Regions from separate parts of the Homo sapiens genome. Here all the other regions are linked to region 1. Evidence: promoter capture Hi-C in human tissues and cell types (Jung and others, 2019). All regions are on one chromosome and are shown on one strand. The core of a region is centred on a gene start or on the middle of the fragment in contact, and the rest is flanking DNA. Distances in the headings are between cores, read along the strand shown. Region 1 holds the start of LLPH (LLP homolog, long-term synaptic facilitation factor). Region 2 overlaps MSRB3-AS1 (MSRB3 antisense RNA 1). Region 3 overlaps MSRB3 (methionine sulfoxide reductase B3). Region 4 overlaps LEMD3 (LEM domain containing 3). Region 5 overlaps GRIP1 (glutamate receptor interacting protein 1).

What was found. The method cuts DNA at HindIII sites, captures the fragments that hold promoters and counts their contacts. A contact is called where the count stands out against the background at its distance.
Region 2: a contact is called between a fragment that was not itself captured here and the fragment with the promoter of LLPH in region 1, in 1 of the 25 tissues and cell types used here (adrenal gland).
Region 3: a fragment that was not itself captured here is called in contact with the fragment with the promoter of LLPH in region 1 in 3 of the 25 tissues and cell types used here (bladder, mesendoderm cells and thymus).
Region 4: a contact is called between a fragment that was not itself captured here and the fragment with the promoter of LLPH in region 1, in 1 of the 25 tissues and cell types used here (hippocampus).
Region 5: a fragment that was not itself captured here is called in contact with the fragment with the promoter of LLPH in region 1 in 2 of the 25 tissues and cell types used here (adrenal gland and lymphoblastoid cells).

Annotation. Positions count from the first base shown.
Region 1 is chr12:66,129,421-66,132,120 of GRCh38, reverse strand. It overlaps LLPH (LLP homolog, long-term synaptic facilitation factor), which reads left to right and starts at 1,371. Exons shown (of 3, transcript NM_032338.4): 1 at 1,371-1,416. It overlaps LLPH-DT (LLPH divergent transcript), which reads right to left and starts at 1,370. Exons shown (of 2, transcript NR_125724.1): 1 at 1,146-1,370. RefSeq lists enhancers at 1,348-1,457, 1,498-1,647. The HindIII fragment of the contact is 6,410 bases long and covers 1-2,700 here.
Region 2 is chr12:65,559,232-65,561,931 of GRCh38, reverse strand. The region is part of intron 2 of MSRB3-AS1 (MSRB3 antisense RNA 1); the gene reads left to right. It overlaps LOC105369808 (a long non-coding RNA gene), which reads right to left. Exons shown (of 4, transcript XR_945035.3): 3 at 2,203-2,351; 4 at 934-1,960. Among named protein-coding and RNA genes, the nearest start is that of LINC02454, 42 kb to the left of the region's middle. The HindIII fragment of the contact is 4,890 bases long and covers 1-2,700 here.
Region 3 is chr12:65,310,385-65,313,135 of GRCh38, reverse strand. All of the region lies in intron 2 of MSRB3 (methionine sulfoxide reductase B3), which reads right to left. Among named protein-coding and RNA genes, the nearest start is that of MSRB3, 33 kb to the right of the region's middle. The HindIII fragment of the contact is 9,744 bases long and covers 1-2,751 here.
Region 4 is chr12:65,231,869-65,234,568 of GRCh38, reverse strand. All of the region lies in intron 4 of LEMD3 (LEM domain containing 3), which reads right to left. Among named protein-coding and RNA genes, the nearest start is that of MSRB3, 45 kb to the left of the region's middle. The HindIII fragment of the contact is 3,788 bases long and covers 1-2,700 here.
Region 5 is chr12:66,676,018-66,678,717 of GRCh38, reverse strand. All of the region lies in intron 1 of GRIP1 (glutamate receptor interacting protein 1), which reads left to right. Among named protein-coding and RNA genes, the nearest start is that of GRIP1, 1.7 kb to the left of the region's middle. The HindIII fragment of the contact is 5,728 bases long and covers 1-2,700 here.

The sequences.
Region 1 (2,700 bases), core at 122-2,621:
CAGTAAATATGGACTATCAGAATATAAGTTTTCTCTAAAATGCAATGTGCACTTATATTTTTGGGTGAGGTAGCTAACTTCTCATTTGAAAGATGAGGTACAGTATATGGTTAACTTGTAAAACAGAAATTCACTTGCTTTATAAGAACGAAATCTCATTTAAATAAACCAGGTTTCTTAGGCATGCTTCCTTTTTTTATATCAAATGTTCTAGGTTTTTTTCAGCCTCTTTAACCTTGCTATATTCTGAATTCAGTAATTTCCATACTATGCATGGTTTCATAAAGGACACAAATTTAAAGAAAAAAGGTACCCATAGATTGCCTCAGAACCCCTTTTTCTGGCAACCAGCAGGAGTTTACCAGGCCATCATTAAAGACATGTTTTTTGGGTATATGTCGTAAATCTCTAGAAACATTGCTTACAAATAGTACTGTGTAGCTATACTTTTGAAACTATAATGTAAAAAGGGTACCATTTGTTGAACTCTTACAGCATCAATTAGGTTGTATTATGTTCACTTTAGGGACAAGGAAATTCAGGCCCTTATGACATTAATTACTCACCCATATCGTTCACAAGTGTTGGAAGCAAGAGTACAACACAGACCTATATGGTTCCAAAGCCTATGCCAGTAGAAATAGTTGTACAGTAAGTGTTATTCGTGAGCTAAGACAATCGTCCTAGGCTTAGCATTGTGTCTGATACGTAAGTGATCAGACAGGTAAACATTGATAGAACTGAAATCCTTTGATCATTTTACCCTTTAAATTCTTCTCTGGGGTAGGAAAAGCTTGTTTTCTGTTTTTGGTAACCGCTTTGAGTATAACTGACATGCAATAAGTTGCACATATTTAAAGTGTGCAGTTTGATACGGTTTTACATATGTGTACATCTGTGAGGCCATCACCCGAGATGAGAAAATGCACAGGCTGCAAATAAAAATGATCTCAATACGGCCTCTGGAAGAACACCTGATCTAGGCTGACTTGATCTAAGGAAATACATGAGTATCATGTAAACGCTGAGGTCAGATCTAAAGGTCGGCTCGGAGCTCCCTATCTGACAAGTAGGGTCCCCTGGCCAGGTTCACTCCATAGGTTAGTCTCGGGGCTACCCTGCCCACGTCCGGAAAGCGGACCTACCTGGGGCCTAACCTTGACCGGACACCCGTCAGCATTCTCCAAATCCGACTTCTACACCTGTATGGGACGGACCAAGTTTCTAGGTCCGCGATCACACCAATGGCGGAAGCTCGTCAGCGCCCGGGTTCCAAAATCCCGCCTCTCAAGGCTTCTTGAGACATTTTGTCTCCCGGCGTGCAATGCGTCCGCCCCGGGTGGCCTCCGCCCGGAAGACGGAAGTGCAAAGACTTCCGGTCGGCGTGAGCGTGAGGTGTGGGTGTTCGTTTCTCAGGTGAGTTCGGTTCCTCACCGGTCCAGTGACACATGGGACTTGGGGCTTGATTCCGCCACCCTTGGAGAATTTCGTTTCTTGACACTCGCTGGGCTATACTTGAGCTCCAGTCCGGAGATGCAGGCCTTGTTGAGGGCGAGGGTTCCCCTTGCTCTTTTTGGTGGGGGCCCTCCGGCTTCCGAGTGCACTGGATAAAGTGGAGCCCACCCCTGTCGTTCACTCCCGCTGAAGTTAACTTCGGCCCTCAAGGTTGTTTGCCGCCCGCTTTCCTAGCCCCTCGCAAGGGTTGAGTTATGTAGACAAGGGAGCGGAATGACTGTGATTGCCGGCGTTCAAAAAATGTTAGTGGTTCGTTCAACAAGTATGCAAAAAGTGTGCGATTCAGCAGTGAACAAGACCTTTCCCTCTACCTTCGTGGAGTCTACAGTCTGGGGAGAGGGTCGGGGGGCGTGACAGAAAACAATGGTTTCAGGTTGTAACACTTAATAAGCAGGGAAGGGAGCTTACGGAGGTCAGAGGAGTCCTTTCTGAGGTAGCGAATGAAGGAGCAAGCCTTGAGAAGAGCAGTTGCCAGGCATAGGGACAGCAAATATGAAGGCACTGACGTAGAGATAGTTTGGACTCTTTACAGACGTAGTTGGTGCCTGCGGGGATGGGGATGGAGAATGAAATGAAATAGAGTTGAAGGAGGCAGGGGACAGATCACAAATGACCTTGTAGATCTTGAATATATATGAGGGAGGAGGTCTTTAAAGAACTCGAAGAAAGGCAGTGAATGCTTTTTTAAAAGATCACACTGAGCACCTTGTGGAGGATTTAGGGCGGAACTGAGTGGAAAGAAAACAAGAGTAGGAATAGATAAGTTTACAGTCGTTAAGTTGGCTTGAGAGGATGGATAATGAAGATGAGGTGAAGTGTTTATAAAAATCATTTGTAATTTGTAAGCTGTTGCATAAATGTAAGGTGATGACGCTGTTGCATTCTGGGGAAATTAAATTTCTGTATTTTGTAAAGAAATTCAGCCGGGCGCGGTGGCTCAAGCCTGTAATCCCAGCACTTTGGGAGGCCGAGGCGGGCGGATCACAATGTCAGGAGATCGAGACTATCCTGGCTAACACGGTGAAAACCCGTCTCTACTAAAAATACAAAAAATTAGCCAGGCGTGGTGGCGGGCGCCTGTAGTCCCAGCTGCTCGGGAGGCTGAGGCAGGAGAATGGCGTGAACCTGAGAGGTGGAGGTTGCAGTGAGCTGAGATCGCGCCACTGCACTCCAGCCTGGGACACA
Region 2 (2,700 bases), core at 29-2,528, 570 kb after region 1:
CTGTGCAGCTGAGGTACAATCCCTCTCGTTCTTTGGGCATCAGCCTCTGTTCTCCCTACATGTGCTGTGTAAGTGTCTGCAGCTGGTGTAGTTTGTGGTCTGTTCTCTCAGCATGGGCAATCTATGGTGATAGCTCCCATGAAGCTAGGCCATCTCTCCCTGGGAAAATTCTAACCAGGGTACTGGTGCCATGGGAAGGCCATCTTCAGAACAGAACTGGCTGCTGTTTAGGGAAGCTTCTCTTTATCAGGCACCTAAGCAACTGAAAATTAACTAGAATGCTATACATTCTTTCCTTAACGTTTTCTTGAAGTAGAAAATTAAAAGCAGACAAATAATTATTTTGAAAAGTAAGTCTTCTTGTTAAAGACAGCAGAGTAAAAACACTTATGCCATTCCCCTTTCTAAAAATCCAATGAAAACAATAAATGGAACAAAAATAGAAGGACAAAACATCTCCCTATCATGAATGAAGTGAGGAAACAGCTATAATCCCAAACCACAAACTCTGAAGTATACCTGCCAAATATTGTGAGCATGGATGGAGATAAGGGAGACCCTTAATGCTGACAAATGCCTCTTTGGATCTCAAACAGGATATATATTTCTCTAAAATTAAGTGAGGTAAGCTAGAAAAGTCAAGCCAATTGTTCCTTGATTAGAGAGAAGGGCTTGAAGGGCGTGAATAAGACCAGGGGAGAACAGAGACTGTCCTTAGACATATACTGAGTTTGAGATGCTACAGATTATTCAATTTCTCCTTTGTACTTTTCTGAATTTTTTGAGTTTTTTTATGAATACTTTTTGCTGAAACAGTAGTCATTTTAATAATCACTAAATGCTAAACAACCACCCCCACCCCCCACCAAAAAAAGTAACAACTGGTTTTGTTAACTGTGCAGAAGGGTTAAAGGATAATAGCTACATTGGAAATCTTAGAGAAGGATAGCCTTTATTATAAAACCCTAATAGGCTATAGAGTATAAAAAGATAAATCAGACCAGAGTCTGGAAGAAGGGGGAAGAATAAACTGAAGGCCAAATTGTTCTGCATTTAAATATGGGCTCAAGTAGTAGGACTTGGCTGAGTTTATTACTCTCAAGAGTCAAACAGAAAGAGAAGGAGTGAGGAAACCAAGAAACAGTGGGGGTCAGGCTGGGAGTAGAGGAAGTACTAGAACTTGGGTTGGCAGAGTTCATCTTTGTAGTTCAAGAAGTCTGAAGTTTTACAGTTATTTGCATCACCTGGATAGAAGACTTTCTTGGCTTGCAAAGCTTTCTGCCACATCCATAAAGATCTTGTTTTTATTTACTTGTTTGTTTTCTTTATTTCTTTATTTCATGAGGCTGAATAGAAATGAAGGAAACCAAAGGAATAAGACAGCACTTGTGGGTAGGAAATGATAACAGAAGTCTGAGCTCTGAATCAGAGCTAATTAGGGAAGCCATGAGCAACTCCCATCTTCACCCCCAACCCATCCTTTCCCTATTCCAGACTCCTTCCCTATACTGCAAAGGGGTTTGAGCCACTTGAATCTGCACTTCAGCTGACCTCTAGATTAACTGCACTATAAGCTTTAGGTTGGGAAGGGGAAGGACAGCGCCGTTTTGACTGAGTCCAGCTAAAGGTCATTGCAAGGAACAGAGAAGAAGAGGCAGTGCAGGGAGTTCAACATGGCTTCTGTTCACAGGTGACCACTCTCCAGGTGAGGCCACCTGTATCCTATCTACCCACCCACTCTCACCCTTTCTAGACCACTTCCTTTCTCCCAGTTCATCAATCACAAGTAAAAAAAAAAAAAAAAATCCAACATGTGAGAAAGAGGATAACACAATGATTCTTACTGGTATTTGGAGACCTCCAAGGTCTCAGTCCTTGCTAAGATACCTGAGCAATGTTTTAAGTCCAGAACACATTCCTTCTCATTTTGAGGTCTTTGTTCTTCTGACAAATCTTCTGTCTTAAATAGTAACGGTAATGCTAATTGTTAAAAAAAACTATTGCTACTAAAAGCCCAAAGCTCAAAGACAAGCTATCTCCCAACACCCACTCCCCATTATGCAAATGTAAAGAAGAAACGGGATAACCAAGAATTTTTTTTAAACTTTCAGTTTAAAACATAGAAGAATGGGAAACACTCAACAGTTGTGAATGAGTAGCAAATAGCAAACCTTGGTGTATAGGGATAGCAATGAGACTTACTTGGTTGGTGATTCTAGAAGCTGCTCTCTGGGATGATCTCCTTGTTAATGATCCCCTATGGATTCATCTTTGATGGGCAATAAAGAATTGCTTTCTTGAGGGACGCACAGCTTCCTCAGACCTCTTCATGCTACTGCAGGTCTAGAGGCCTGGAATTTGTTTTAAAAATAAAAATTATACACTGTTTTCAGGCAGGCTTGAGGTGTCTTTGACAATGTGGTTTCCTAAAAATCTTAGTTGGCTTCTGTTCTATTTGCTTCCTATCAATTGCATATGTGTGTAGACACAGCCAAAGATGCTGTGTCCACAGTCTTTAAACCTGAAGATCCTTCCCCCTTTACTTCCAACATCACTGATCTATCCTTTTCTAGTTCTTCTTCAATGGCTACTTCTTTGAGACAATTTGAAATCATAGCTTCTCATGGGAAACACTCCCCTGAATCTGAACTTTTTTAATGGGTCCAAGGTGTCTTGCAGATAATCCTTAAATAATGGGAG
Region 3 (2,751 bases), core at 13-2,512, 820 kb after region 1:
CACCGCCTCAAACAGTTTACTACCAAAACTCAAAACTGTTTGCAAGAAAAGGTAAAAGCAATTCTGGATAACATGCATTGAATCTGTTGCCACTTTTGTTTTTTGTTTAGCTACAATGTGATTTATACCTATGACATCCCCTGTATTGTATTAATGCAATAAAGTGAGAAAAAATTGTCAGACAATAAATTCAAAAGTAAACCAAACTATGAACTTCACTTTTAATCTTCCCATATAAAGGAGTTTCAAATAAATTTGTACTCTCTTACAGCTATGACTTCACCTACACATAAACATTCCAAATGTTTACTGATTCATTTAACATATATTTATTAAGTGCCAGGCACTGTGTTAAGCTCTGGAGCCATAAGCCGCTGATTCATGGAGTTCTAGTTATACAGATGATAATCAATGACTTTCTAACACCATTTGCAAAATATCTCTAAGACTTCTAATTGCTACATTAGAAAACTATGATATATTTATAAGCTACAGCCATGTGACTCTTCAATTCATGGAAACTATTAAATATGCCAATAATGTCAAATAAGAATCACAACCACAAATTATATGTATGAGGGTAGAAAAAAAGTATAATTTATCACTCTAATTAGTACTATTTAGACAAATTTTATTTATTTCACCCTCACTTGGCTGAAAGCTATCATGATATCTAGTCTAAGCTACAATTACACTTAATTTTTATCTAGCATTAAAACTATGTATAAAATTGGGCTTCCTGATTCCTCCTCAGATAATGCTTCAGTCTTGATTAAGAGGCAAGGAATTCTAATGTTCAAACATGGAAACTGTGTCCTCCCACCACAACTCAGCAGACTTCTCTGTATAAGTTCCCAGCATTAGTTAGTACTGAGTTTTAAGATCTGATTAACCTAAAGTCAAAAGTAAAAACAAGTGACAGTTAATAAAATCACAGAATTTAAGAACTAAATATACTATCTAATTTTAATTCCTCATAAAGATGAAGAGACTGTGATCAGGAGAAGTTTATTGATTTGTTCAAGGTCACGCAAGTTAAGGACAGAGCTTTGGTTAGAGTTTTCTAACTCCTAATCCAGTGTTCTTTTAATACATTAAGGAAACTGTTGTAAGAAATTAAGAAGAAATTCTGCGAGAGAAAAATTACCTTTAATTGCAAACATGAGTGAACCATAACTCAGATGCACTTAAAAAGCTCCAAATTAAAATTATACTTTATTAAAAAAATAAGACGTAAAAAAAGTCAAAGCTGAAAAATAATAGATCACTCTTCTGGGATATAGCCTTCATGCAGGTCAATCCAGTTATAATCAACTTTAAGAGCTTGCTCCAATTATATTTTAGTTCTGGAATTATTTCATATTGAATAATACTCAAAATTAGTAGGGTACTGGTTAGGGAACAGACATCTTTTTGATTTACAGAGATTTCTGTTGTAATGGGTTTTGACCAGCAACATTATATTAAAGCAAGACTTCAAACTTTCACCTTCACTTCCTGTATTTCCAATTTTGGCCTCTTCTCTTCCCTACCTGTACAAACTAATAGGGACTAGAATTCCCATTTCAATTTCATCTTTATTTTTCAAAATTTAAGCAGTCTGTTTCATTACTGTTGAAGTTAATTTCTTCAACATTTCTATATATCTAAGAGCAAAATCCTGTTAGAGAAATTGATGATGATACAGATTTTGCTAAATCCAAGTTATAAAATATGTAGACACCCAAAGACTGACTTTCATAACACTTTAAAAACTAGTGGTGCTTGAATGGTCGAGAAATTATGGAATACTATTCTAGTCAACTCATTTTTCAAATTAAAATGGGTTTACAAGCCCTAGATAAGAAAGATGAGAGTTTCTTTGGGCTTTTACCAGTACTGGGTAGTAAGAATAAAAGAAATCTCTTGTATATTTATAGGACTTGAATTCTGGTTCAGCAGGGTGCATAAGTAAAATAAAGAGATCAGAACAACAGGTCAAGATGGTTATTCCTCAAACATAAAGTGTATTTGTGAGTCCCATGAAAGTAAAAAATAGTTAAATGAAACATAGGACATGTTTAAAAGTTTGAAAAGTCTGTTGTATTGGAAAAACATAAATCTATATTAATACAGATACATGAATTTCCATATTGAACATAGTGAAGACATATATGGTGTTTACTAAATGCCAGCCACAGGTTTAAGCACTTTTCACATCCCAATCTATTTAATTCTCACAGCAACCCTTTCAGGTTGGTACTATTATTATCTCCATGTTACAAACAAGGAAGCTAAGGCACACAGCTAGTCAGTGGCAAAGTCAGATTTTAAACTCAGTCTGACCTCATACAGAATTTGTGTGCTTAAGCACTGTACCATAATGGTTAATTTTTTAAAAACTATCAGCTTTGCTGAATTTATCTTTGAATCATTTTATCAAAATTTAAAGATATTTATATTTCAGTTAAACAATCTCATTATGAAACCCTTTAATCCATGACTGTCATATCTTGAAGAATACACTGTTAATTAATGTGGTTTCTATAAACATTTAGCCTCCCCTGTATTTGGCAAACCAATGTTACAAGAACTATGCTGGGTACTTTTACACATTGGAGCTTTTTCCAGAGGAAAACATCATTATGTATAATCTAAATAACCTCCATAGTCCACCTGTGATATGTACGGTATAGCATTGAAAAGGTTCTGCAAAGCACAAGAACTAGTGGTTGAGGTTCTCCCTCAAGGTCGTATACAATTCAACAGACA
Region 4 (2,700 bases), core at 134-2,633, 900 kb after region 1:
TTTAAAACCTCATTAAGGACTTAATGGGGTGTTGAGGTCTAAAATATGCCACTATTTCCACAAATATATATACGGCATTCTAGAGTATTAGAAAATGGAATTTTTATAAAAGCAAAAATTGAATTATTTGCTTGTGCCAAATAGTTGATGCTAATACTGTAGCATACATAGCATATACCTGATTTTAACAGTTTAAACTGTTTTATTATTCACTTTTTGTAGCCACCTGGAAAGCTGTGGGCACGGCAGGGGTTGGTCAGCTTTTTCTTTTGTCCGTAAAGGGCCAGAGAGTAAACACTTTAAGCTGTGCAGCCATATAAATTTCTTTCTTTCTTTTTTAAAAGCAAGCTTTAAAACTGTTGTAAAACCACAGCTCACAAGCCATACAAAAACAGGCAGGCTGGATCTGGCCCATAAGCCATGGCTTGCTAACCTCTAAGGTAAGGCATTCCAGCATCATAAAACAAACATTTTCCAATAACTGATGACAAAAATCAGGAAGAAACTAAGTTTTTAATTTTTAAGGCACAACTTTTATTACTATTGTTTATTACTATTTACTTATAGGCAAGAGCTCAGTCAGTATACCACTGACTGCTTCATGTAAATCTTTCTAAATTTGAAGTATATTTTCCCAAATCTTAAATCTAACACATTATGTGTGTACTCACGCATACCCCCATGAACTCTCCCAAATGTTCTTTATTTTCAAAATCGTGGGTCAAAAATGTGTACTTTAAAACCCACATCAGATGCTCTGAACTTGGATTACAGTTTCCAAGTACAAAAATAATACTGTTTCATTAAATAAGGCAACAAAACTTTAGTTAGTAAGAAGGGAAAAAGGCACTGGTATAGGGAGAAATCAAGCAAGGACTAAAAACCTAATATGGATAGTTTATGAAACTGATAATTTACACAGTAATAGCCATGCAGCCTTCCAGCTGGTGAATATTCTAGTGAACTGTGAGATGATCTACACTATGCATCAGATGGCACCTTTTAAAATTAATTAAAATATAACACACAGAAATCCACAATGCTGAACAGGATGTAACTCCTGATTCAGTAAGAATTGTATGATCTTTCACCTGCTAGAATAACAGAAAAAAACATAGTCTTTAGAATCAAGTAGACCCAGAACCAGATGCTGGCTCCATTACAGATTAGCTATATGTACAACCTTAAATGGGACAAGTGAAAAATATGCCACCTATCCAGATGTATCTACTTTGACCACTTTTTCAGATCCTAACCCTTAATAGCACCAGTCCCTTGCCCACTCAATAGCTGGAGCTAAGGATTATGAATCCACTCCATCCACTTAAGAGGCAGAACAATATATAGAAAAGAGCAAGTACTTTGGTTCTATTCCCAGTTCCATCACATAGTAGCTGGATACTCTAGTTATTAGCCCCTCTATGGTTTAGTTTCTTTATGAAATGGGTCTAATACCACCTATCTTGTTGGATCATTCTGAAATTAGAATTAACATATAGAAAGTACCACACTGTACTTTATAAACCTTAATTATTATCATAAAATTTCCCCCTCACTCCACTTCTCAGAACACTCATTTTTCCACACAGACTTTTATTAACAGTAATTAGCATTCTAGGCCATAAAAGTCTATCCAGCCCCATAATTTGACACATTTGCAGCTGTCTACTTTCCTATTATTTTCTTCACAAATCTTAAACATATTCATTGTGTTAAAGGTTAAGAAGGTTTTGAAAGCAACCTAGGAACGTAAACCCATTCATTACATTATTCCATAAAAAGTTATACAAAGTCACTACCATCTAACTTAAAAACCAATCATGTATTTTCACGGAAATATAAACTATGTATTTCTTCAATGTTCCACCAGAGGGACCTCTTAACTTTTCACAAATTAAAATAAGCTTTCAATATCAAAAACAACGAGTTTTTTAAAAAGCTCAAGAAGAGCACTGGAGTAGTTAGAAAAATAGTGTTTAAATTATTTAAATTAGTTATTAAGTTTATTTAAATTTCCTTTGAAGGAGAAAACTGGATAAAGAATTAAACATAAATAATTAAATTCAAGAAAACAAAAATATGTTACTGAGGCTTATTCACTCATTTTACTCCATCAAACATTTACTATACTCACTGTGCTTAAAATGTACTAGAAGTTGTGAAAAAATTAGCTTACACTTGTAGGGGCTCTACACATTCTTTGGTTTATTTATTCCTCAATCTAAAAACTTAAATGTGTTGCTGGTGAAACTATAGTGCAAATACATGAAAATATGTAATAGATCTCTTTCTCATAAGCAGAAGGCCCTCCATATAGATATTATAATCCTTGTTTGATATCAACTTTGTAGTGAGTTTCCTCCATATTTATGCCAGAATATGGATAAAATAACATAGAGAATTTTGGCTAGATTGTGCTAAAGCAGTCATTTTAAATTGGGAATTAATATAGCAACATATATCAAAAGCATTTTTAAAAGTTCATGCTCTTTGAACAAGTAATTTCCTTTTTAGGATTATTTCCTAAGAAATATTAGAAAATTAAATACTATATGCAAAGATTAGAGTGATTTCATAATATTGAAAAACCACAAACCAATAAAATAAAATCATACCATGAAATATTATTCAGTGATAGAAAACATTTTCAAAAATCATTCAACGGTTTTTGAAATACACACAATAATTTCAAGGGAAAGA
Region 5 (2,700 bases), core at 136-2,635, 550 kb before region 1:
TGTATAGATACATATGTACAGGTAGACTCGGCTTTGCTTTCTGTCCTTACATCTCGGTTGTGTTCGTGCTGAAATTATGAAAGCAGCTTGTGTGATTTTTTTTTTAATGACTTCATTCTTTGCTGAAAAGAGAATGTGTTTGGGTCCGGTGCTGAAGTTATTGTGGGAAACCGTCATTTTGCATGCTGATTAACTGGCCAAAAGGAGTCAAGTGTGTGTTACTGTCCTTTCTATGATACATATACTAAATGCAGCTGGCAGATTCAGGACTCGCACAGCTGGTGGATCCACAGAATAATTGTTTGTTCTATGACTTTCCAACATCTTAAGAGCTTTTTCCCTGGACAGCTTTAATTTCTTTATGTGTTAGAATTGCATGTTCAGAAAAGTATGTAATTCCAAATGCTTTGGTCCTATGTAATACTAGAAGTTTATTTGAAAGTAAAAATCATTGCTCGGAATCTTATCATCAAGAATTACCAGCTTCAGATTGTCACTCTTAGAACTCTAAAATAGTAATTAAATTTCTCTGTAATATTTAAGGTATTATTTTATTTGAAACCATTCTGGATGTGCCATCTCGTTTACTTTGTGAGCATTCTATTGCAAAGTTAGTAAATGGATGCCTTAAAAATCCTGCCTTGTGTCCATATAGATATGTGAGCTCTCTTGCCTTATTTCCTTTAGATAGAACCTTCCTTAGAGAAAATTTATTATTTAAAAAAAAACTTCATTCTGAGTAAAAGTATTTAGTTGCAAATGCCTTTCTTTTTCAGCCTGTAATATAGAGTACTGTTGAGTAATTAATGGATATAATTATGTTCTAGAAGCTCTGAACCTATAAATATGTTAATGGATGCTATTTCTGTCAGTTTAGCTTGACATATCAGAATTCTTTGATCACCAGCAGTGCAGCTAAAAATGCAATTAATATTTTATCTGGCAGAAGAATGAGCACAAAGCAAATCATGAGAAATAGATCTTGAGTCAATAACAGGAAAGAGAATAAATACTGTAGACCAACTTACCGAATGCATTTGCAAGTTGTTTGGATAGCAGAGTGAGTCCTTTAAAAGGTACTTTGGGGGAAATGTAGGGAAGATTATACATTTTAAATTAGGCTATTAGCAGGAGGCTGTAAATTCTGTTTTGACTTTATCCTCTACAATTGGTACAGACGTACAATTTCTGTTTATAAATCATGACTAAGAGACTATCCTTTCTGTTACGGTTTTGGCTGAGACTTTTAAAGGCAGGCCCTTATTCTGAAAAGTTCTTTTCTGACCTGATTTTGGCATTTACTTATCTTGATGTTGAGAAGTTGATGGTCTTCTTACATCATAAACATGAAACAATCAGTATTTTCTATTCATCTGTATCAGTTCTTTTATAAGTACTACATACAAGGAAGAGAGTGAACCCAAGCAATTTATAGTTCTTACAAATATTTTTAACTTTCTCAGTTTTCTGAATTTTATGGAAGCATTGATCTCCTGCATTGAAAGGAGATTTAAGTGTTTACTAAGATAGTCGCTAAAAATCTAGATAATTGAGGAAAGTATTGATAACTGCTTTGGAGTTGCTACCTCACACTTTTTTCCAAAATCTTTATGTCTGCTCTATTTGGTATTTAACTTAAGACTGTCAGTTGATGATTAAAATAAAATCTCTTTGCAGAATCAATTTGCCATAATTGGGTTCTTCTTTGTGTTTAACTGGCTGTCCAAATACTTACAAGAATGCACCTGAGTAACACGGTACCTTGCCTTGCCATCTGCTTCAGTCTTGTCCAACAACGTTCAAGTTCCACCCATGCTTCTTGTTCCAAAGTGGATTCATTGAGTTCTAGCACCCCACCCATACTTGTGGTGCTGTTTTCTTAAGCTGTAATGATAAAACCAGGAAACATATGTAATTACAATATTAAAATGACCTTTCTTTTAGGGTCAGGAGTGTATTTGGGGACAGGGGTGGATATACACTTGAAGTTTCTTTCTTGTCCCATTCTCCCTACTCACACAACTCCCACACCCTCACCCTCAACTCCCAAACATACATATTTCTTTATACCCATTGAGGGCTCCACCTAACACTCACTCTTCCAGACATTTAGCACAAGGCATTACACTTAGTAGGCACTTCAAAACTGTTTGTTAAAATGAATTGGATTTGTCTAGTTGAAAGTAGTAGGGCATTTAAATCTTCTGTGAGCTCTTAGGAAATGCTTCAAGAGCTTTATTAGGCCTCTTGTGGCTAAAACCTTACCCAGATCTTAGCAGGGGGAAGTTTGCTTCATGACTCCAAAACTACCTTGCTATTTGTGGTTGATATCACCCACAAGAAAAAGCAATATGGCAATTGCAATTTCTTCTTAATTTTCTTAAGGAGAAAATGATGGAATAAAAGGGAAACAATTTTCTACAAACACCCACATTCTTGATATTTTTACTTGATTCTTACATTCTTCATATATCTAATACATACTTAACAAATATCGATTAAGTACCTACTATGTGCCAGACACTGACATTTTTGCACTTAGAATTCTGGGCTGGGACAATTTATAGGTGTAAAAAGCATTTTTAAAATGAATATATTATTGAACAATAAATATTTTTTCTTTAGGTCAGATGTAATTTTAAAAGATGTATAAAACATGTATTTCTAGACAAGTCCTTGGATCACTCCACATAGACACTG